4 separate regions of the Homo sapiens genome follow, and all the other regions are linked to region 1. The links are contacts of gene promoters, found by promoter capture Hi-C in blood cells and fetal thymus (Javierre and others, 2016). All regions are on one chromosome and are shown on one strand. Each heading gives the region's core, a stretch centred on a gene start or on the middle of the fragment in contact. The rest is flanking DNA. Distances are from core to core; before and after follow the strand shown.

Region 1 (4,881 bases), core at 1,033-3,532:
GACTCTGAGGAAGGGTTTGAGGCTGCTGTGATCATGCAATGAATGCATGATTGTACCACTGCACTCCAGCCTGGGGGATAAAGGTAGATCCTGTCTAGGAGAGAGAGAGAGAGAAAGAGAAAGAGAGAGAGAAGGGAGGGAGAGACAAAGAAAAAGAGAGAGAGGGAGGGAGAAAGAAAGAGAGAAAGAAAAGAGAAAAGAAAGAAAAAGAAAGAAAGAGAGAGAGGGAGGGAGGGAGAGAGAAAGAAAGAAAGAAAGAGAAAGAGAGAAAGAGAGAAAGAGAAAGAAAGGAAGAAAGAAAGAAAGAAAGAAAGAAAGAAAGAAAGAAAGAAAGAAAAGAAAAGAAAGAAAGAGAGAGAGAAAGAAAAAGAAAGAGGAAGGAAGGAAGGAAGGAAGAAAGACAGGCTCTGAGGAAGGTGGCAGTTCCTACAACGGGAGAACCAGTGGTTAATTTGCAAAGTGGATCCTGTGGAGGCAAAACAGAGGAGTCCCCTAGGCCACCCAGACAGGGCTTTTAGCTATCTGCAGGACCAGACACCAAATTTCAGGAGGGCTCAGTGTTAGGAATGGATTATGGCTTATCAAATTCACAGGAAACTAACATGTTGAACAGCTTTTAGATTTCCTGTGGAAAATATAACTTACTAAAGATGGAGTTCTTGTGACTGACTCCTGATATCAAGATACTGGGAGCCAAATTAAAAATCAGAAGGCTGCTTGGAGAGCAAGTCCATGAAATGCTCTTTTTCCCACAGTAGAACCTATTTCCCTCGTGTCTCAAATACTTGCACAGAGGCTCACTCCCTTGGATAATGCAGAGCGAGCACGATACCTGGCACATACTAATTTGAATAAAAATGCTGTCAAATTCCCATTCACCCATTCAAGCAGCAAACTCTACCACCTGAATGTACATGCCAGGCACTGTGCTAGACTTGGCTCAAAAAGATTTCAGTTTCCTGGAGGAACCAGGAGGAGCAAGGTTTCAACTCAGTGCTATAAGAAGTGTTACAGGCTGGACACGGTGGCTCACGCCTGTAATCCCAACACTTTGGGAGGCCGAGGCGGGCAGATCACAAGGTCAGGAGATCGAGACCATCCTGGCTAACATGGTGAAACCCTGTCTCTACTAAAAATACAAAAAATTAGCCGGGCGTGGCGGCAGGTGCCTGTAGTCCCAGCTGCTGGGGAGGCTGAGGCAGGAGAATGGTGTGAACCCGGGAGGCGGAACTTGCAGGGGGCCGAGATCGTGCCACTGCACTCCAGCCTGGGCGACAGAGTGAGACTCTGTCTCAAAAAAAAAAAAAAAGTGTTATGATGCAGACCTGTCAAAGAGGCAAAGGAGGGTGTTCCTACACTCCAGGCACTGTTCATAACCTGGACTCTCATTCATTCTACAAATGGAGGGCTCCCCTGGGCAGTACCCTGGAGCAGGCACTTTGCTGGTGTCTCGGTTAAAGAGAAACTGATAACTCTTGGTTGGTATTACCAAGAGATAGAGTCTCAGATGGATATTCTTACAGAAACAATATTCCACTTTTCAGAGTTCACCAAAAAATCATTTTAGGCAGAGCTCATCTGGCATTGATCTGGTTCATCCATGAGATTGGCTAGGGTAACAGCACCTGGTCTTGCAGGGTTGTGTGAGCTTATCTCCAGGGTTGCCCCAACTCCGTCAGGAGCCTGAACCCTGCATACCGTATGTTCTCTGCCCCAGCCAAGAAAGGTCAATTTTCTCCTCAGAGGCTCCTGCAATTGACAGAGAGCTCCTGAGGCAGAGAACAGCACCCAAGGTAGAGACCCACACCCTCAATACAGACAGGGAGGGCTATTGGCCCTTCATTGTACCCATTTATCCATCTGTAAGTGGGAAGATTCCTAAACTTAAGTACAAAGAAGTGAATGAAGAAAAGTATGTGCATGTATAAATCTGTGTGTCTTCCACTTTGTCCCACATATACTAAATTTAAACATTCTTCTAACGTGGGAAAATCCAGTATTTTAATGTGGACATCAACTGCACAACGATTGTCAGGAAAACAATGCATATTTGCATGGTGATACATTTGCAAAATGTGTCATAGTTTGCTACTCCTTGCCCTTCCATGAACCAGAGAATTATCTCAGTTTATTAGTCCCCTCCCCTAAGAAGCTTCCACCAATACTCTTTTCCCCTTTCCTTTAACTTGATTGTGAAATCAGGTATTCAACAGAGAAATTTCTCAGCCTCCTACTTCTGCTTTTGAAAGCCATAAAAACAGCGAGGGAGAAACTGGCAGATACCAAACCTCTTCGAGGCACAAGGCACAACAGGCTGCTCTGGGATTCTCTTCAGCCAATCTTCATTGCTCAAGTATGACTTTAATCTTCCTTACAACTAGGTGCTAAGGGAGTCTCTCTGTCTCTCTGCCTCTTTGTGTGTATGCATATTCTCTCTCTCTCTCTCTTTCTTTCTCTGTCTCTCCCTCTCCTTCCCTCTCTGCCTCCCTCTCTCAGCTTTTTGCAAAAATGCCAGGTGTAATATAATGCTTATGACTCGGGAAATATTCTGGGAATGGATACTGCTTATCTAACAGCTGACACCCTAAAGGTTAGTGTCAAAGCCTCTGCTCCAGCTCTCCTAGCCAATACATTGCTAGTTGGGGTTTGGTTTAGCAAATGCTTTTCTCTAGACCCAAAGGACTTCTCTTTCACACATTCATTCATTTACTCAGAGATCATTTCTTTGCATGACTGCCATGCACTGGATGCTGAGAGAAATCACACATGAACGTAGCCGTCATGGGGAAGTCACTCATTTTCTCCTTTTTACACAGGTGTCTGAAGCAGCCATGGCAGAAGTACCTGAGCTCGCCAGTGAAATGATGGCTTATTACAGGTCAGTGGAGACGCTGAGACCAGTAACATGAGCAGGTCTCCTCTTTCAAGAGTAGAGTGTTATCTGTGCTTGGAGACCAGATTTTTCCCCTAAATTGCCTCTTTCAGTGGCAAACAGGGTGCCAAGTAAATCTGATTTAAAGACTACTTTCCCATTACAAGTCCCTCCAGCCTTGGGACCTGGAGGCTATCCAGATGTGTTGTTGCAAGGGCTTCCTGCAGAGGCAAATGGGGAGAAAAGACTCCAAGCCCACAATACAAGGAATCCCTTTGCAAAGTGTGGCTTGGAGGGAGAGGGAGAGCTCAGATTTTAGCTGACTCTGCTGGGCTAGAGGTTAGGCCTCAAGATCCAACAGGGAGCACCCAGGGTGCCCACCTGCCAGGCCTAGAATCTGCCTTCTGGACTGTTCTGCGCATATCACTGTGAAACTTGCCAGGTGTTTCAGGCAGCTTTGAGAGGCAGGCTGTTTGCAGTTTCTTATGAACAGTCAAGTCTTGTACACAGGGAAGGAAAAATAAACCTGTTTAGAAGACATAATTGAGACATGTCCCTGTTTTTATTACAGTGGCAATGAGGATGACTTGTTCTTTGAAGCTGATGGCCCTAAACAGATGAAGGTAAGACTATGGGTTTAACTCCCAACCCAAGGAAGGGCTCTAACACAGGGAAAGCTCAAAGAAGGGAGTTCTGGGCCACTTTGATGCCATGGTATTTTGTTTTAGAAAGACTTTAACCTCTTCCAGTGAGACACAGGCTGCACCACTTGCTGACCTGGCCACTTGGTCATCATATCACCACAGTCACTCACTAACGTTGGTGGTGGTGGCCACACTTGGTGGTGACAGGGGAGGAGTAGTGATAATGTTTCCCATTTCATAGTAGGAAGACAACCAAGTCTTCAACATAAATTTGATTATCCTTTTAAGAGATGGATTCAGCCTATGCCAATCACTTGAGTTAAACTCTGAAACCAAGAGATGATCTTGAGAACTAACATATGTCTACCCCTTTTGAGTAGAATAGTTTTTTGCTACCTGGGGTGAAGCTTATAACAACAAGACATAGATGATATAAACAAAAAGATGAATTGAGACTTGAAAGAAAACCATTCACTTGCTGTTTGACCTTGACAAGTCATTTTACCCGCTTTGGACCTCATCTGAAAAATAAAGGGCTGAGCTGGATGATCTCTGAGATTCCAGCATCCTGCAACCTCCAGTTCTGAAATATTTTCAGTTGTAGCTAAGGGCATTTGGGCAGCAAATGGTCATTTTTCAGACTCATCCTTACAAAGAGCCATGTTATATTCCTGCTGTCCCTTCTGTTTTATATGATGCTCAGTAGCCTTCCTAGGTGGCCCAGCCATCAGCCTAGCTAGGTCAGTTGTGCAGGTTGGGAGGCAGCCACTTTTCTCTGGCTTTATTTTATTCCAGTTTGTGATAGCCTCCCCTAGCCTCATAATCCAGTCCTCAATCTTGTTAAAAACATATTTCTTTAGAAGTTTTAAGACTGGCATAACTTGTTGGCTGCAGCTGTGGGAGGAGCCCATTGGCTTGTCTGCCTGGCCTTTGCCCCCATTGCCTCTTCCAGCAGCTTGGCTCTGCTCCAGGCAGGAAATTCTCTCCTGCTCAACTTTCTTTTGTGCACTTACAGGTCTCTTTAACTGTCTTTCAAGCCTTTGAACCATTATCATGCCTTAAGGCAACCTCAGTGAAGCCTTAATACGGAGCTTCTCTGAATAAGAGGAAAGTGGTAACATTTCACAAAAAGTACTCTCACAGGATTTGCAGAATGCCTATGAGACAGTGTTATGAAAAAGGAAAAAAAAGAACAGTGTAGAAAAATTGAATACTTGCTGAGTGAGCATAGGTGAATGGAAAATGTTATGGTCATCTGCATGAAAAAGCAAATCATAGTGTGACAGCATTAGGGATACAAAAAGATATAGAGAAGGTATACATGTATGGTGTAGGTGGGGCATGTACAAAAAAGATGAACAAAGT
Region 2 (5,408 bases), core at 276-2,775, 93 kb before region 1:
AAGTGGACCAAAGAACCACACGAATGGAACTGGCCACCCAGGGAATCAAGACAGCAGTCACACACATTGAAGAAAGTGAGGCTTGTTCCTCCTACCACTACTGCAGGTGGACTTTTCATGGCCTCAGACTATCAGCATTCCAATACAAATGCTGCCTGTATCCCAACCCTGGACCAAAGGATCTGCAGCCATCTTTAATCTGTCCCATCAATGAAGCTATTAGCTGATTGCTTATTGCCATCATAATTTCATATCTATCCACTCCCATTTTATTATTCCCAATGATGCAAGAGTCTCAGGTATCATTGTGCTAGAAGACATGCCAGAACTCCAGGCATCCACTCACAGCTGTCAACACTGTACGTCCCTGAACCAGGTATGTGGTCCTCACCCTCAGATTACTAGAATACCTCTCTGGGCTGTGGCATCAGTAATTTTGCCCTTTCCCATCCTCTAGCCCAAGCCTAAATTGTCTTCCTTAGCTATGGACATGCAAGGCTGGGGAGATGAAATAGCATCATTGACTTGGCCAGGCTGTGTTTTCAACTACTAGGATCTCCTTCTAATAGCTTTTCTAACTTTCCAAATTTTATCCTCGATACCTACTCTGAACAACTTGCTCCAAGGTACAAGAGTAGACTTTTTCTCCCAGGAGGGCTTGCACCAGAAATCAATGAGTTATTAGTGATGTAGACAGAGGGAGAAAATGGAGCATGAGAGTATAATACCTTGGTGCATTGTGGTAGGGTACCACTGGTATCATTTGCTCCTCTATTCCAAGGGCTGGGATGACTGATATTAAAAGCAAATAGAGAATTTGTCTTAGGAAAGTGTTTTTGGAACCCATTGCTTTGGACTATCTTTGTTTGATAGAGATTGATGCCAAATGTTTGAATATAGCATTTCTTTAGGTGGACTTGTGGATATCACTTGAGTGCATACCATCTGAAGGTCTGCTGTGCATTTCATCAGGCCTGTGACCAATTATGTTTTGTGACTGAGTATCAGTCACCTAGATGTCTCCAAGTCCTGCAGGCTTAGGGTCATCCTGTTTGGAATTTTCTTTTTTTTTTTTTTTTGACACAGTCTCGCTCTGGATTGCAGTGGTGCGATCTCGGCCCACTGCAACCTCCACCTCCCAGGTTCAAGCGATTCTCCTGCCTCAGCCTCCCGAGTAGCTGGGAATAAAGGCACGCACCACCATGCCCAGCTAATTTTTGTATTTTTAGTGGAGACACGGTTTCACCGTGTTGGCCAGGATGGTCTCAATCTCTTGACCTTGTGATCCGCCCTCCTCAGCCTCCCAAAGTGTGGGATTACAGGCATGAGCCACCGCGCCCAGCCCCTGTTTGTAATTTTTAAGTAGAAATTTACTTGAACCCCTATCCAACATATGGTGGAAAACCTGGTTTGCTCTACCCTATTTCCTAACACCTGAGGAGTACCTCTCATGTCACTAATTTCTTTTATCTCCTGACCTTTCTGTCATGGCTCACATATTTCAATTGTTTCCTGTGTTGGTGCCAACTGACCCAGAACTCCCAACACACACACACACACACACACACACACACACACACAAAGCATCATCACAAAACATTTGTATCAGCCCAGTAATTCCTCAAACCTGGCTTTAGAAACACCTGGAGGACTTTTAAACATCCTAATGCCAAGCCTGCTCCCTGGATATTTCAATGTCAGCCATGCCTGAGAATCTGTCAACTAGCCCAGTGCTTCTCAAATGCGAGTGTGTGTGAGAATCACCTGGGGAGCTTGTTAAAATGCAGGCTCTGTTTCTGGGTCCCGGGTAGGGCTCTAGATTCTGCATCTCTAACAAGTTCTCAAGTGATGCTGATGCCGCTGATCCCCAGACCACACTTTGACTAGCAAAGAGCTATCAGATATGAGGGATGACAGGGGCCCAGCAAATAATTACAACTAAACATCAGACACATCAGTGACACCACTATCAGGAACTTCTCAGAGGCCATCCTGCTCCCCCAGTTCCAGCTCCAGGGCCCCCTCTCATTTCTCATTTCCCTTGGCTTCTACCTATTCCCAGGACCTTGTCTTTCTAGGGATGTCATGGCCACTATATATTTATTTAGTTATTTAATTTATTTCTGAGACAGAGTCTCTTTCTGTCACCCAGGCTAGAGTGCAGTGGCACAGTCATGGCTCAATGTATCCTTACCTTCCTGGGCTCAAGTGATCCTCCTACCTCAGCCTGCCAGGTAGCTGGGACTACAGGTGCATGCCACCACATGTGGTTAATTTTTTTTTTTCTTTTTTTTTTTGTAGAGGTCTTGTTGTTTCCCAGGCTGATCTCAAACCCCTGGCCTCAAGCAATCCTCCCACTTCAGCCTCCCAAAGCACTAGGATTACAGACATGAGTCACTACACTCTGCCAGGCTGGCATGTCTTTATCGGGCAGCTCAATCTAGTTCCCTCTGTCTCCAAGCACATCCCGGTCCCACTCTAAGAGCTGTCTTGCCACACCTAAATGCACCATCAAAAGGATTTGCTGATCCCAAGGCAGTACTGTGCCCAAGGAATGCTACCTCCAGCTTCTAAAGCAGAGGTTCCCAAAATCTCTCAGTTCATGGTATCCTTCGTGTCCCAGGAATTTCTTCACCGAGTACTTTAAGCCAAAAGAAACACCTGATGGTTCTGCTTCTCTCTCTCTCTCTCATTTTTTTTTTTTTGAGATGTAGTCTCACTATCACCCAAGCTGGAGTGCAGTGGCACGATTTTGGCTCACTACAACCTCCGCTTCCCAGGTTCAAGCAATTCTCCTGCCTCAGCCTCCTGAGTAGCTGGGGTTACAGGTGCATGCCACCATGCATGGCTAATTTTTATATTTTTAGTAGAGACGGGGTTTCACTATGTTGGTCAGGCTGGTCTCGAACTCCTGACCTCGTGATCTGCCCGCCTCGGCCTCCCAAAGTGCTGGGATTACAGATGTGAGCCACCGTGCCTGGCCAGTTCTGCTTCTTAAGCAATTGGGTTGAGACAATTTAATGCCAACGGTTTTCACGGGCCTGACAGATGTCACTGTGTTTTCTTCAGAATATTTAAATATCCCATGACACCTCGTGAGTGTGCTGAGGTGCCCTACAGTCCACACTTTGGGAACCATGGCTCAAAACTAATAGTTGGTATATATGGTACCTCCAAATGCCCTAGCAAGGTAATAGAAACCCATAGTGATGATTGTACGTGATGCAAATGGGGGACTGAATCTGACGGGAGAGGAGGGGATTTCAGGGAGGTGCTGTCCCACCACCAGCACCAACTGGATCTGGCACAAACAGGCCAACATTACTCTCTGTTGTAGCCAAGAGAGTCACTTTCTAGATTCATCTCTCAGTGGAAGTTCCAAAGGGTTCTGGGATTAGAATAGTATAAGAGAGAAAGTAAGGGCAGAAAGATAGTTTGTCTCTTGGTAAAAACTTGTAAACATGACTCATCTAATATCAGAAAATCTAGGAGGAAAGCTTAACTATTATCAGAATGCTGCGACACCTGATGGTGCAAACTGTTTCCAGTTAGGAGTCCAACCCTATGATACAGTGATTCTCAACCTTGGCTGCACAGTAAAATCATTTGGAGAGTTTTCAAAAAATACAAATGGCTGGGCTCCCACCCAGACCAGTTAGTTGAGTCAGTCTCCGAAGGCAAGATCCAGAGATCTATAATTATATATTTGTTTATTTATTTATTCGAGACAGGGTCTTGCTCTGTCACCCAGGCTGGAGTGCAGTGGCACAATTTCGGCTCACTGTAGCCTCAGCTTCTTGGGCTCAAGAGATCCTCCTGCCTCAGCCTCCCAAAGTGCTGGGATTACAGGTGTGCACCCAGCCTAAAAGTTTTAAATTTTGATGAGGTCCAATTTACCTATTTTTTTTTCTTTTGTTGCTTGTGCTTTCAGTGTCATCTAAGAATCAGCCAGCAAATCCAAGGTCATAAAGATATATCCCTGTTTTCTTCTAAGAATATTATAGTTTTAGCTCTTACATGTAAGTGTTTGAGCCATTTTGAGTTAATTTCTGTATATGGTGTGAGATAAGGGCCCAGTTGCATTCTTTCACATGTGGTTATCCAGCACCATTTGTTGAAAATATGATTCTTTCCCTCATTGAATGGTCTTGGCACCTTTGCTGAAAATCAATTGATCATAGATGTATGAGATTATTTCTGGACTCTCAATTCTATTCCATGTATTTACATCTCTCCTTAAGAGGTAGGGGGTGGGACTTGACTCTGGAGGCAGGACTTGGACACTGGACCAAACCGAGGACTAATTGAAACAGGGCTGGGGTGGAAGGAGCTTTTCATGTGACATACCCACCAGTTCGCCATATCAGTTTACCGTCATCATGGCAACACCAGGGAGTTCCCCGCCCCCCTTCCATGATGACTCCATGACCCAAAAGTTATTACCAATTCCGTAGAAATTTCTGCATAAATTGTCCCTTAATCTGCATGTGTTAAAAGTGGATATAAATGACTGCAAAACTGCCCTGAGTTGCTACTCTCTGCCTACAGGGTAGCCCTTCTGTGCAGGAGTAGTCAGAGTTGTAACAGGGCTGGAGCTGTAACAGGGCTGGAGCTGTAATACTGCCCCTTCAATAAAGCTGTTTTCTTGTCCCATGGGCTTGCCCTTGAATTCCTTCCTGGGCAAGGCCAAGAACCTTCACAGGTTAAGTCCCACTTTGGGGCTCACCTGTCCAGCATCACTTATGCCAGGACCATAGTGTTCTGATTACTGTAGCTTTGTAGCTAAGAGCTAAGTCTTGAAACTGGAAAGTGTAAATCCTCCAACTTTGTTCTTCTTTTTCAAGATTGTTTTGGCTATTTGGAACCTCCTGCAATTCCATGTGAATTTTGCGATCAGCTTGTCCATTTCTACAAAAAATAAAAAATAAAAATGGCACTTAAAATTTTGATAGGTGGCTGGGTGCAGTGGCTCATGCCTGCAATCCTAGCACTCCAGGAGGCTGAGGCAGACAGATCACCTGAAGTCAGGAGTTCGAAACCAGCCCGGCCAACATGGTGAAACCTTGTCTCCACCAAAAATACAAAAAATTAACTGGGCGTGGTGGCGTAGTTACTGTTAAAGCCCCACACTAGGCCCTTTGAAAAATACGGAATGTGTCAGAAATTAATTCTATACGATGATGTGACAACCACAATACAAGGTACTGCAATACAGCTGACCTCACCAAAGCACAAGCAGGGGCAGCTCAAAGAGGAAAATGTCACTTCCAGCAAGGGATTGAGGGAGGGCTTTAGGGAGGAAGTGGCATATAAGCCAGAATTACAGGATGGGGAGGATATAGACAGCAGATGACAGAGAGGAGAGTGAAAGCTGGGAATCCCAGCTAAAGGCATCAGGTTTATGGAAT
Region 3 (5,253 bases), core at 71-2,570, 120 kb after region 1:
CCCCAAGGTGAGCAGTCCTCCCCTCCTGGCCTGCCACTCTCCCGGCACCTTTGTCCCTTACTCCGAGAGGAAGGTGAAGCCATAGGCACCCAGCAGCACATTCCCGTGGGCGTCCACCTTCAGCAGGTTCCCATAGAGTTCATCGAACACCAGCCGCCTGCAGACGGGGGGTCGGGGGGCACTGTGGGTGGGGGTACCAAGGCCGGGTGGCCTCCCACCTGTCCTGAGCCACACACCTGGTGGGGAAGGTGGGGTCGTAGGTGTAGCGCAGGATCTCATGCGGGTACCCAATGCACACCAGGCGCTCCAGCAGCAGCTCGAAGGTCAGGGCCTCATAAGCTGGGGACTTGTAGGCTGCAGAGGCCCGGACAGAATCAGGGCTTTGGTGCCCAGCTGCCCACCCCTGCTCCCTCCAGCTCCCAATACGCTGTGTTCCAGCCCTCTCTACCAGCCAGAGTGTAGTCCATGTCGAAGCCAAAGCAACGAATCTTCCCCAGCGCCAGGCTGCGGTTGACAAAAATCCTGGGGAGAGAGAGGAGGATGTTGGCATCAGTCCACCAGCCCCCCAGAATCCAAGGCCCAAGGACAGAGGGGGTGGAAACCCCGCAGAGGAGGGCAGAGCACCCCCTGCAGCTGCAGAAAGCACAGGGGAAGCAGGTCAGGCCAAGCCAGGGCCCTGCCTGGACCCATGTGTGTCTGAAGGCAAGTGTGAGTGTGCATGTAAGCATGTGTGAGCATGTGTGCAAGCGTGCATCTGAGTGTGTGCGGGCAATCAGCCGCTTGCTGTCCCACCATGCAGGCATGTTATAGGCATCCAACCCTGTAAGAAAGTAGGTGCAGTTGTTGGTGTGAGGGTTGTCACCTTCTGAAATGGGACCCCAGTGTCCAAATTCAGAGATGATGTGTTTGTCACAATTGGATAGCACATGTCACTGTGTCCGTGGTGAAGGGGAGAGATCTTCGTGGAGGGAAGGAAGTGAAGAGGACCTCCCGCCGGAGTGTGTGTGGTCAGTTCCCTGATGGGTTGTTACAGCTATGGAAGTGCGTCCCTTGTGAGTGCAAGTGTACGTCTGCATTTTGGGAGTCCCCATAGCTGTGTATTTAAAGGAGCCCCTGTGTGCTGCTGTGGCGTGTGGGGTGTTTATGGGCTGAGACCCCTGGCCCCCACCCCAGGTGCCCATCTCACCGCTGGTGCCAGTCCTGCTTCGGGCCTTGAGGGGAGACCAGTCCCTCCGGCTCTCTCCAGTCTACACTGGCCATCGTCACCCAGAGTGAGGAGGAGGCAAGTGTCCCTTCCTCAGCCTCCTGCACACTATCAGTGGGGCCCAGCCACTCTCCTCTCCCTCAGAAGCTTCAGGCACCACTGACCCAGCTGGCCCCACCCTGTGCTCCCATCTCCCCCGAGCCCCTTTGAGGGAGGAGTCAGCCAGGACAGGCTCTGGTATCCCATCCTTTTCTCTAGAGCAAAAGCAGCAAGGATCTAGGAAGAGCAATTCATGTCCACTGCACCCTCCTCATTCCTAGGGCTTATGCATCCATGGACCTCAGCGGCCTGGAGAGTAGCGGAGAACCCAGAATGAGGCAAATGACGGGATACAAAGTCAGGAGGCTCCGTACTGTACTCATGATAAAAGAAATAACTCAGTACTCTTGCTTTATGCACAATTCTGACACATTTGGTTATCAAATTTCCCAGCTCAAGGCCATTTAGAGAAGACATTGCTAGAAGCATGCCAAGGGCTATAAGAATTGGGAAGATAACTGGGATCTCAGAATGGGGGGGTGGCAGAAAGTACAAAAGGAAGTGTCAAAAAGCAGAACCACTGGGGCCATTTAGTGTAGAGTTCTAAATACTCCCTGAGGGCCCATACCACTGGCTCCACAACCAAGCATGTGACTTCCATTTGGAGCGGTGACCTGGATCATCCAGAAAGACTTAACTGAAGTGCCAGGCCCTCTTTTAAAAAGAAAGACAAGGCTGGGCACAGTGGCTCACGCCTGTAATCCCAGCACTTTGGGAGGCCAAGGTGGGTGGATACGTGGTCAGGAGATCAAGACCAGCCTGGCCAAGATGGTGAAACCCTGTCTCTACTAAAAATACGAAGAAAAAAAAAATTGCCCTCTTGGGAGCCTGAGGCAGGAGAAAAAAAAAATTAGCCTCTTGGCAGCTTCTCGGGAGGCTGAGGCAGGAGAATTGCTTGAACCCAGGGGTTGGAGGTTGCAATGAGCCGAGATTGCTGCACTCCAGGCTGGGCAACAGAGTGAGATCCTGTCAATAAAAAGGGAAAGAAAAAGGAAGAAAGAAGGAAGGAAGGAAGGAAGGAAGGGAAAAGAAAAGAAAAGAAAAGAAAAAGAAAGAAAGAAAGAAAGAAAGAAAGAAAGAAAGAAAGAAAGAAAGAAAGAAAGAAAGAAAGAGAAAGAAAGAAAGAAAGAAAAAGAAAGAAAGAAAGGAAAGAAAGAAAGAGAAAGAAAGGAGGGAGGGAGGGAGGGAGGGAGGGAAGGAAGGAAGGAAGGGAAAGGAAAGGAAATGAAGAAAAGGAAAGGAAGAAAGAAAAGGGCCTGGCGCAGTGGCTCACACCTGTAATCCCAGCACTTTGGGAGGCCAAGGCGGGCAGATCACTAGGTCGGGAGTTTGAGACAAGCCTGGCCAGCACGGTGAAACCCCATCTCTACTAACAATACCAAGATTAACCAGGCATGGTTGCGCATGCCTGTAATCCCAGCTACTCAGGAGGCTGAGGTGGGAGAACCACTTGAACCCAGAAAGCAGAGGTTGCAGTCATCCAAGATCGTGCCACTGCACTCCAGCCTGGGCAACACAGCAAGACTCCGTCTCAAAAAAAAAAAAAAAAAAAAAAGACAGACAAGTTTACAGTCGGTTTCAGCACTTTCTCTCTAAAATGGCTAAACTAAACTAAATGAAGGTGGCACTCTTAAAAGGATAAAAGTTATCTGGAACAACAACAGAAAAACATATCCATGGAAGAGCTCCTTCCTTGACAAAGCCAGGTGAGCAAGCACAGTTGTGTGCTGCGGAACGATGTTCCGCCCAACAGTGGACTGCGTATGCCACTGAGTCCCATAAGGTGATAAGGAGCTCAACAACTCCTATGGCTTAGTGACCTCATCGCCATCATAATGCAAAGCATCACTCACATGTTTGTGGTGATGCTGGCTAGGAGAAATAGGCTGTACCCTGCAGCCGAGGTGTGTAGTAGGCTGTACCATCTAGGTTTGTGTAAGTGCACTCTATGACATCACACAATGGTGAAATCGACTAATGACACGTTTTTCAGAACAGATCCCTGTGGTCAAGCCCCGCATGACTGTATTAAGATGGTGAGGCAAGGATATGGAGGCTGTAGGATATGTGTTTCCTCATCGGATGGAGGAATGGAGGATGGATGGAGAGATGGGTGGATGCATGAATGAGTGAATGGACAGACAGTTGGATGGGTAGATTCGTGGATAGACGGGCTGATGGTTAGCAGGCTATATACAGCAGCCTTCACGGAAGGTGTCAGGGGAGAACTGAGCTTCAGAAATCAGGAGGCTGTCTGGAGTCGCTTCCACTCATTATTCCATGCGCTCTGCTCATCTCATGGGAGCCCTTTAAGCCCCTTTTCCACATTGCCTGGCTCCTTTCTAGGTCAGAAAAGAGAAGGAGGAGTAATACCTGGTTAGGAGAAGTCTCTAGGGGTTGCTCAGCCCTTCCACTGGGAGGCATCATGGCAGCTGTACAAAACCTGCCTTTCCTATAGCTGAACTTAGGCTCTATCTTGAAGGCTCTGTGCACCTGAGGGTGGTGAAGCCATCCAGCAACGTTCAGGTACGATGAATCACTTCAGTGGTTTCTCGGGTCCCTTCTCCAGGTACCTCTTCTGGGGTCAACTCGACAGTGTGGGACTTATCCGCAGCCACACTGGTAATTGGGAAGGGCTTCACTTCCTGGAGGGTCCCAGGTCCTCACATTGCTGTCTGTTAAGGTAGCCACATCCCTGTTGAGTCTTTGGCTGGCATGGTCTCTGCTACCGTCTTAGGATATGGCTGCTTGTCCAGACCACAGAGTCCTTAGGCTAACCGCATGTACAGTCAGGGAGGACTGCAGGCTGCCACAGGCCCCGCTTGGTCCTGATTCCTGAGCCAATGCTAAGGCACCCCTGTGAGGCTTGATGCACTGGGAGCCCCTTCAAGAAAAGACTTGCCACCATAACAATAAGCAAATGGTTGCCCATTTTTACTGTGTGCCAAGCCTCCTAACAGCCCCACGAGACAGGCTAACTGTTCACTGGATTCATGAATGATCAAACTGAGGCACAGAAGGGTTAAGCAACTCTCCCACACTTACCAGGCTGATAAATGGCAGAGTGGGACTGAGCCCAGGCAGCTGGGTGCCAGCATCCGTATTCTTAATCGGTAGGCAAAACCGCCTCTGCCCATGGCCCATCACAAAAGTCCCTTGACTTTTCAATGTCGTTAAAGACAAAGAAAGGTGGAGGAAATGTTCCAGATTACAGGAGGCTAAAGAGCCACGGTGAATGAACGCAATATTCAAGCCTACGCAGAATCCTGTACTGCAGGCACATATAGTGCCAAGGACATGATGGGGTCAACAAATAAGATTGCAGTGTGGGTGGTGGGTTAGATGAAAGTTCTGTCTCAATGTAAACCTGTGAACTTGATGACTATATTGTGGTAATGTAAGAAAATATCCCTATTCCTGGGAAATACTCACTAAAGAATTTAGGATAAAGCTCATGATAAGTGTAAATTACCTTCAAGTGGTTCAGGAAAAATAATTGTGTGTATACACATACATACAGACAGATGGACACATACATGCATACATACACACATATACATACATACACATACATACATACATACCCATGTGTGTTCATATAGAGCAGGGGACAAACAACAAAGCAAACAGAGTACAATGTTAGCAACAGGTACATCTTGGTAAAGCCTGTAAGGACAGTCTGTGTACTATTTTTTACCTTTAAACTTTTCATAAACTTGAAGTTACTTCCAAATTTCAAAATTTCTTAAAAAGAAGGTCTATGTTGCAACCTACTCATCTGACAAAGGGCTAATATCCAGAATCTACAATGAACTCAAATAAATTTACAAGAAAAAAACAAACAACCCCATCAAAAAGTGGGCGAAGGATATGAACAGACACTTCTCAAAAGAAGACATTTATGCAGCCAAAAAACACATGAAAAAATGCTCATCATCACTGGCCATCAG
Region 4 (5,377 bases), core at 87-2,586, 75 kb after region 1:
AGTGAGCCGTGGTTGTGCCACTGCCCTCCAACCTCAGTGACAGAGGAAGACCCTGTCTCAAAAAAAAAAAAAAAAGTAGTAAGTTTAAAGAACTTAGTGTAGGCCTGGCATATAAATGATATTGTTGATGTTGATGTTAGCTTGAAGGCACATTTATAGGACTAGGGATTTTATAACATTATGTTGCAAAGGCAAAATCACTAGAGAAAAGTGTCATCTTTTAGAATATTAATGAACTGGTTAAAATCTTGAACTAAAGTTATGTCGTTTGTTTGCTTGCCTGTGTTGCAGAAGAGCGGCAGAGAAAGCTTCAGGAGTACCTTGCAGCCAAGGGAAAACTGAAGAGCCAAAACACCAAGTGAGTTTATCTGTCCACAGTTACGCAAGTTTTGTTGCCTTCTTTGTACTAGCAATTTAAAGCCTTTTTGAAAAATGTCCCTTTTGCTTAGAGTCTACTCAGACTGCACTGGGATTCTATGATAACGCAAAAAGAGCATTTCAGTCCAGGCATGACAAAAACCCCTGGGCAGTGCTTAGTCCATTGGCAAAGCTTTATGCATTATTACTGTGTGAATCTCCAAAGGAAGGAGGGAAGAAGGGTCAGTATTACCTACCATGCTGGAAGCTTTGCCTGTTTCTGCTTTTTTTTTCTTGGGGAAGTTGATTCTCATGAAGGCAGTTTTTGGTCAAGAACTTGAATGACCATGGTTCTGGCATTTCTTGCTAAGGCAGGAGAGCCAGTTACAATCAATCCTCCGTAGCAGAGTGATACCCTCTGCTCTTGGGTCATTCTCTTAGCATTTACTGTTAAGGTAGACAGAACATGTCCACTTCATTTTTATCCTTTGTAGATTCTTACCATCTTTGTCGTGTTATTTGTCCTTTCTTAGCATTAATTAATTTTTTCCCCATTTGAGTTGCTAAGTATTTATTTGAAAATTAATTTTTACAAAGTTAGCTTTCACCCTTTATTTTATCTTGGGTGTTTACTCACCTCTATTTCCTTGATTAAATGAACCTAATTCACTTATTCAACAAATATTTATTTAGTACCTATAACATCTCAGTCACTTCTGATGCTAGAGATAATGGCGCTTAACAAGACAGACATTCCTGCCCTCCCAGGGCTTATGCTGTAGATGGGAGAGACAAACATCAAACAAGTCATAATCAAAGTCCTTGTTAGTCTAGCAATTGTTTTTGGTCCATGCAGATTGATTCCTTCTAAATTCACCTCTGTTTTCCAATCCTTTTTCTGCATTTCCTGTCTCACTAGCTATATTTCATGTGTGTCTTGGTTTTTTTTTTTTTAATATTTCTTTACCCCCTTAAAGTTAGAAGAGATAGTATTTGAAGATACTGAAAACAAGGAAATTTTTTTTTTTTTTTTTTTTTTTTTTGAGACGGAGTCTCACTCTGTTGCCCAGGCTGGAGTGCAGTGGCGCAATCTTGGCTCACTGCAAGCTCTGCCTCCCAGTTTCACGCCATTTTCCTGCCTCAGCCTCCCGAGTAGCTGGGACAACAGGCATGTGCCACCATGCCCAGCTAATTTTTTTGTATTTTTAGTAGCGATGGGGTTTCACTGTGTTAGCCAGGATGGTCTCTATTTCCTGATCTCATGATCCGCCTGCCTTGGCCTCCCAAAGTGCTGGGATTACAGGCGTGAGCCACTACGCCCAGCCGGAAATTTTTTAAAGAAGCAGTTAATGGTTTTATTTGGCATTGTGTCTTCGGTGTCTGGCACATTGCAGTGCTCCAGGAATGATGTGTGAATGAGTAAGACTATATAAATATGAAGGAAACACATATATCTCATTAATATTGTGAGAATGCTAGATTTATGTATAGACAGTCTCTGTAAGGATCACAAGGCAAAAAAAAAAAGAGTAGGAGCAGTTGGTGGTCTCCAAGGGGGAGGATACAGAACTAAAGAAATGATGATAAGGAGACTTTATTAAATATAATTTTGAATTATTTTGCCATTACAGAAATTCTAATTATTTAAAATTCTATTCATAATTTTTAATCACTGTACTTCCCAAGCTTAGCTTAGAATCCTTCTGTGCTGAGGATTAATTTTAATTTGTCTTTTATAGGCCTTATCTAAAATCCAAGAATAATTGCCAGAATCAACCACCTTCTAAATCTGTAAGTAGAAATTAGTCTTTTTAAAAATATGCATTCATAAGTATGATTAGTAATAAAAATAATAAAGATGTTAGCAACCTAAAGAACATGTATTTGAAAGGTATTTCTTACAGATATAAAAACAGTTTGGTTTAATAAGAGACAATCATTTTTTGAAAAGTATGACATTTTTTGAAAAGTAGTTTAGTTTTATTAACCAAGAAAAGCCTCAAGTGAACTTTAGTCCTCTTGATAGCTAACATTTATTGAATGCTTACTGTGTGCCTGATACTTTTCTGACTTGCATTACCTCACTGAGTCCTCACAATCTTATGAGGCTACTATTAGTAGCCCCACTTTACAGATAAGCAAACTAAGTCACAGAAAGGTTAAATAGGTCGTATAGCTATTAAGTGACAAAGCTGAGAGCCTGTGATCTTAACCACTTTGGTATGCTGCCATGAAGTTAAATAGCTCAGTAGTCATTAAAAGAGAACATTTGCATTGAACCTTCCAAGCCACTTAACAAGTATATGCTTCCTAATCAATTTAATTTAGCTACATTAGATAGAATGGTAAAGGATCCTTAACTTAAAGTTTAAATGGAAGAAATTAGCCCTCTGAAAGAGGCACAGATTATTCATCTGCAATAAAAATCTCACCTTTAGTTTTTTAAAACATAGTTTTTATCTGTGTTCTGAAATGTAACTAAAACAGTGCTTCCTGAAGTGAAAAATTCTCACTGGTGAGAATTTTAATAAGTTTTAATGATTCACCAAATCACTTCAGTCATATTTCAGTCATATGCATATGCATATATAGACATATAAGTTTTTATCTGTGTTCTGAAATGTAACTAAAATAGTGCTTCCTGAAGTGAAAAATTCTCACTGGTGAGAATTTTAATAAGTTTTAATGATTCACCAAATCACTTCAGTCATATTTCAGTCATATGCATATGCATATGTAGACATATATATGTTGTATGTATACATGACATCATTAGACACTGTGAAGGATAGCAAAATGTATATAAGGCAAAATTTATGAACAATGGTTTAACGTTTGGGAAGCACTGGGTTACACTTTTACTTTATGCAGATTGAACCAGTATAGTATGCAAGTCTTAAGGAAAAATCTACTGGAAAGGGCCCTCATTCAGACTTCCCAGAGGCTTCTCTGGAAGTTGACAATACTGACTTCAGTACATCAGCTCGTAAATGAGGATGATACCTACCTTATCTGCTTTACACAGTTGTAAAAGTAAAAAGTGAACTCAGGAAGGGAATTACAGAATTTAGGAGAAACTAAAAGCACGATGTAAATAATAGTCATCATTACAGTTATATAATGCTTGACAATTTATATAACACTTTCGATACATGACAACAATAACTAACACCCAGACATGTTTATATACATTACCTCACTCAGAACAACCATGTGAGGAAGTTGGCCATATGCTTTAATGTCCAAACCAGGACACTTTGAGAGTAAAAAGCAGTACTCTTTGACCAACAGGCATAAATCAAAACTATCTTGTGAAAACCGGGATATATGGCATCCTTCCTAGATAATAGATACTTTTACTATTATTAATTTTGCTGTGAATCTAAACCTGCTCTAAAAAAGTTAATTTTAAAAAGTAATGAAGTACTGATACATGCTACAACATGGGTAAATCTTGAAAACGTTATGCTAAGTGAAAGAAGCCAGACAGAAAAGGCCACATATTACATGATTCCATTTATATGACACATCTAAAATAGGCACATCTATAGACATACAGAGACAGAAAGTAGACTAGCGGTTGCCAAGAACTGCAGGGAGCAGAAAATGGGGAGTGACTGCCAACAAGTAAACCAAGTTTCTTTCTAGGGTGATGAATATGTTCTGGAATTAGACAGTGGTGATTGCTGTATAATAGTGTGGCTATACTAAAATCCACAGAAGTGTGCACTTACTAAAATGGTGAATTTTATGGTTTGTGGATTATATCAATTTGTTTTTAATATATAAGAAAGCAACTAAAAAAACACATTTGGAAGCTTTCATGCCAACGTCCCTCCACCTCTTCAGTAAGCAATGATGGAGAGATCCGAGGTGTATATAAATGTTGGTGCTCAAAGATTAATCCAGATATAGCCATTGTGGGTATACCATCCATCTCTCTGCCTCCCACTCCCAACTCCGCTGTTTCACTCCTAGTAACACCACACACACCGCTATCATCCAGAGTAGACATCTCTTTGCCCTCAATGCCAAATGGTTCTGGTTAGAAATCCTTTACATACTCGCCAAGTTTATGTAGTGATTCTTCACAATATTTGTCAAATCAAAAATAGAGTGGTAACTCTAGCATTCCCATATCTTACCCTGGAAACATATTCCATAAATCTCTGTGAAATTCTCCTTTCTGAGTAATTGCTTTCATGAGAGATGCTCAGGAATTCATAGTGGCTTGCCCAATTACTTACCATATGAATTCTAAACTCCCTTCCCTAGTTTTCAAAATTCTCTGTAATCGAGTCCTACCTTTCTTATCCAAACTTAAATCACATGACTAAACATTTGTTTATTATTAACATAGACTCTAACCTTAAAACCCTGTCCTGGCTGATTTTACAAATATGACTATTAAGATGTTACATGTTTATTGAGAGCTGTGGCAGCATATCTCAGGCCTCACATCATCTGCCACCTATCTCCTTGTCACTGATCTCCAGGGATGAGACAGAGGTTCTTGAGTGATACTGTGATGTTTACAAAGGCAGTGGTTTAAAAAACATATAGTGTGGCTATACAAAGTACTAGGAGAGATTTGTTGGGAGGTACCCTAACATAAGTTCATTATGTATGTATTTTTTCAGGGTTCTTTGGAGGGCACTTAGGATATAATAGGCATTCAACAACTACTGTTTGAGGCAAATTCATTTTTGAAAGAGCAAGTTTTGTATATTCACTGCATCTCTGCTTAATTCTGTCAAGCTAAAAGATTCTAATATACTTCTGATAGGAACTCAAGTTGTAAAAACTACCTGTTAGGACAGGTGTGGTGGCTCATACCTGTTATCCCAGCACTTTGGGAGGCCAAGGTGCGTGGATCACTGGAGGTCAGGACTTCAAGACCAACCTGGCCAATATGGTGAAACCCCAACTTTACTAAAAATACAAAAAAGTAGCCAGGTGTAGTGACATGCGCCTGTAGTCCAGCCACTTGCGAGGTTGGGGTGGGAGAATTGCTTCAACC

Evidence for each region. The method cuts DNA at HindIII sites, captures the fragments that hold promoters and counts their contacts. A CHiCAGO score of 5 or more calls a contact.
Region 2: a contact is called between a fragment that was not itself captured here and the fragment with the promoter of IL1B in region 1, in 7 of 17 cell types (megakaryocytes, M1 macrophages, endothelial precursors and 4 more). The highest score is 13.1, in megakaryocytes.
Region 3: a contact is called between the fragment with the promoter of NT5DC4 here and the fragment with the promoter of IL1B in region 1, in 4 of 17 cell types (neutrophils, monocytes, naive B cells and 1 more). The highest score is 9.0, in neutrophils.
Region 4: a fragment that was not itself captured here is called in contact with the fragment with the promoter of IL1B in region 1 in 8 of 17 cell types (megakaryocytes, monocytes, M2 macrophages and 5 more); the score reaches 24.1 in megakaryocytes.

Annotation. Positions count from the first base shown.
Region 1 is chr2:112,834,180-112,839,060 of GRCh38, reverse strand. It overlaps IL1B (interleukin 1 beta), which reads left to right and starts at 2,282. Exons shown (of 7, transcript NM_000576.3): 1 at 2,282-2,353; 2 at 2,817-2,878; 3 at 3,444-3,495. The coding sequence starts at 2,832. The HindIII fragment of the contact is 1,771 bases long and covers 2,155-3,925 here.
Region 2 is chr2:112,926,067-112,931,474 of GRCh38, reverse strand. No RefSeq gene overlaps it. Among named protein-coding and RNA genes, the nearest start is that of IL37, 18 kb to the right of the region's middle. The HindIII fragment of the contact is 3,948 bases long and covers 1-3,499 here.
Region 3 is chr2:112,717,087-112,722,339 of GRCh38, reverse strand. NT5DC4 (5'-nucleotidase domain containing 4) reads right to left here and starts at 1,320. Exons shown (of 17, transcript NM_001393655.1): 1 at 1,187-1,320; 2 at 449-522; 3 at 237-354; 4 at 62-157. The coding sequence starts at 1,260. The HindIII fragment of the contact is 3,072 bases long and covers 1-1,353 here.
Region 4 is chr2:112,757,484-112,762,860 of GRCh38, reverse strand. It overlaps CKAP2L (cytoskeleton associated protein 2 like), which reads left to right. Exons shown (of 9, transcript NM_152515.5): 2 at 292-358; 3 at 2,097-2,148. Among named protein-coding and RNA genes, the nearest start is that of CKAP2L, 4.4 kb to the left of the region's middle. The HindIII fragment of the contact is 1,418 bases long and covers 628-2,045 here.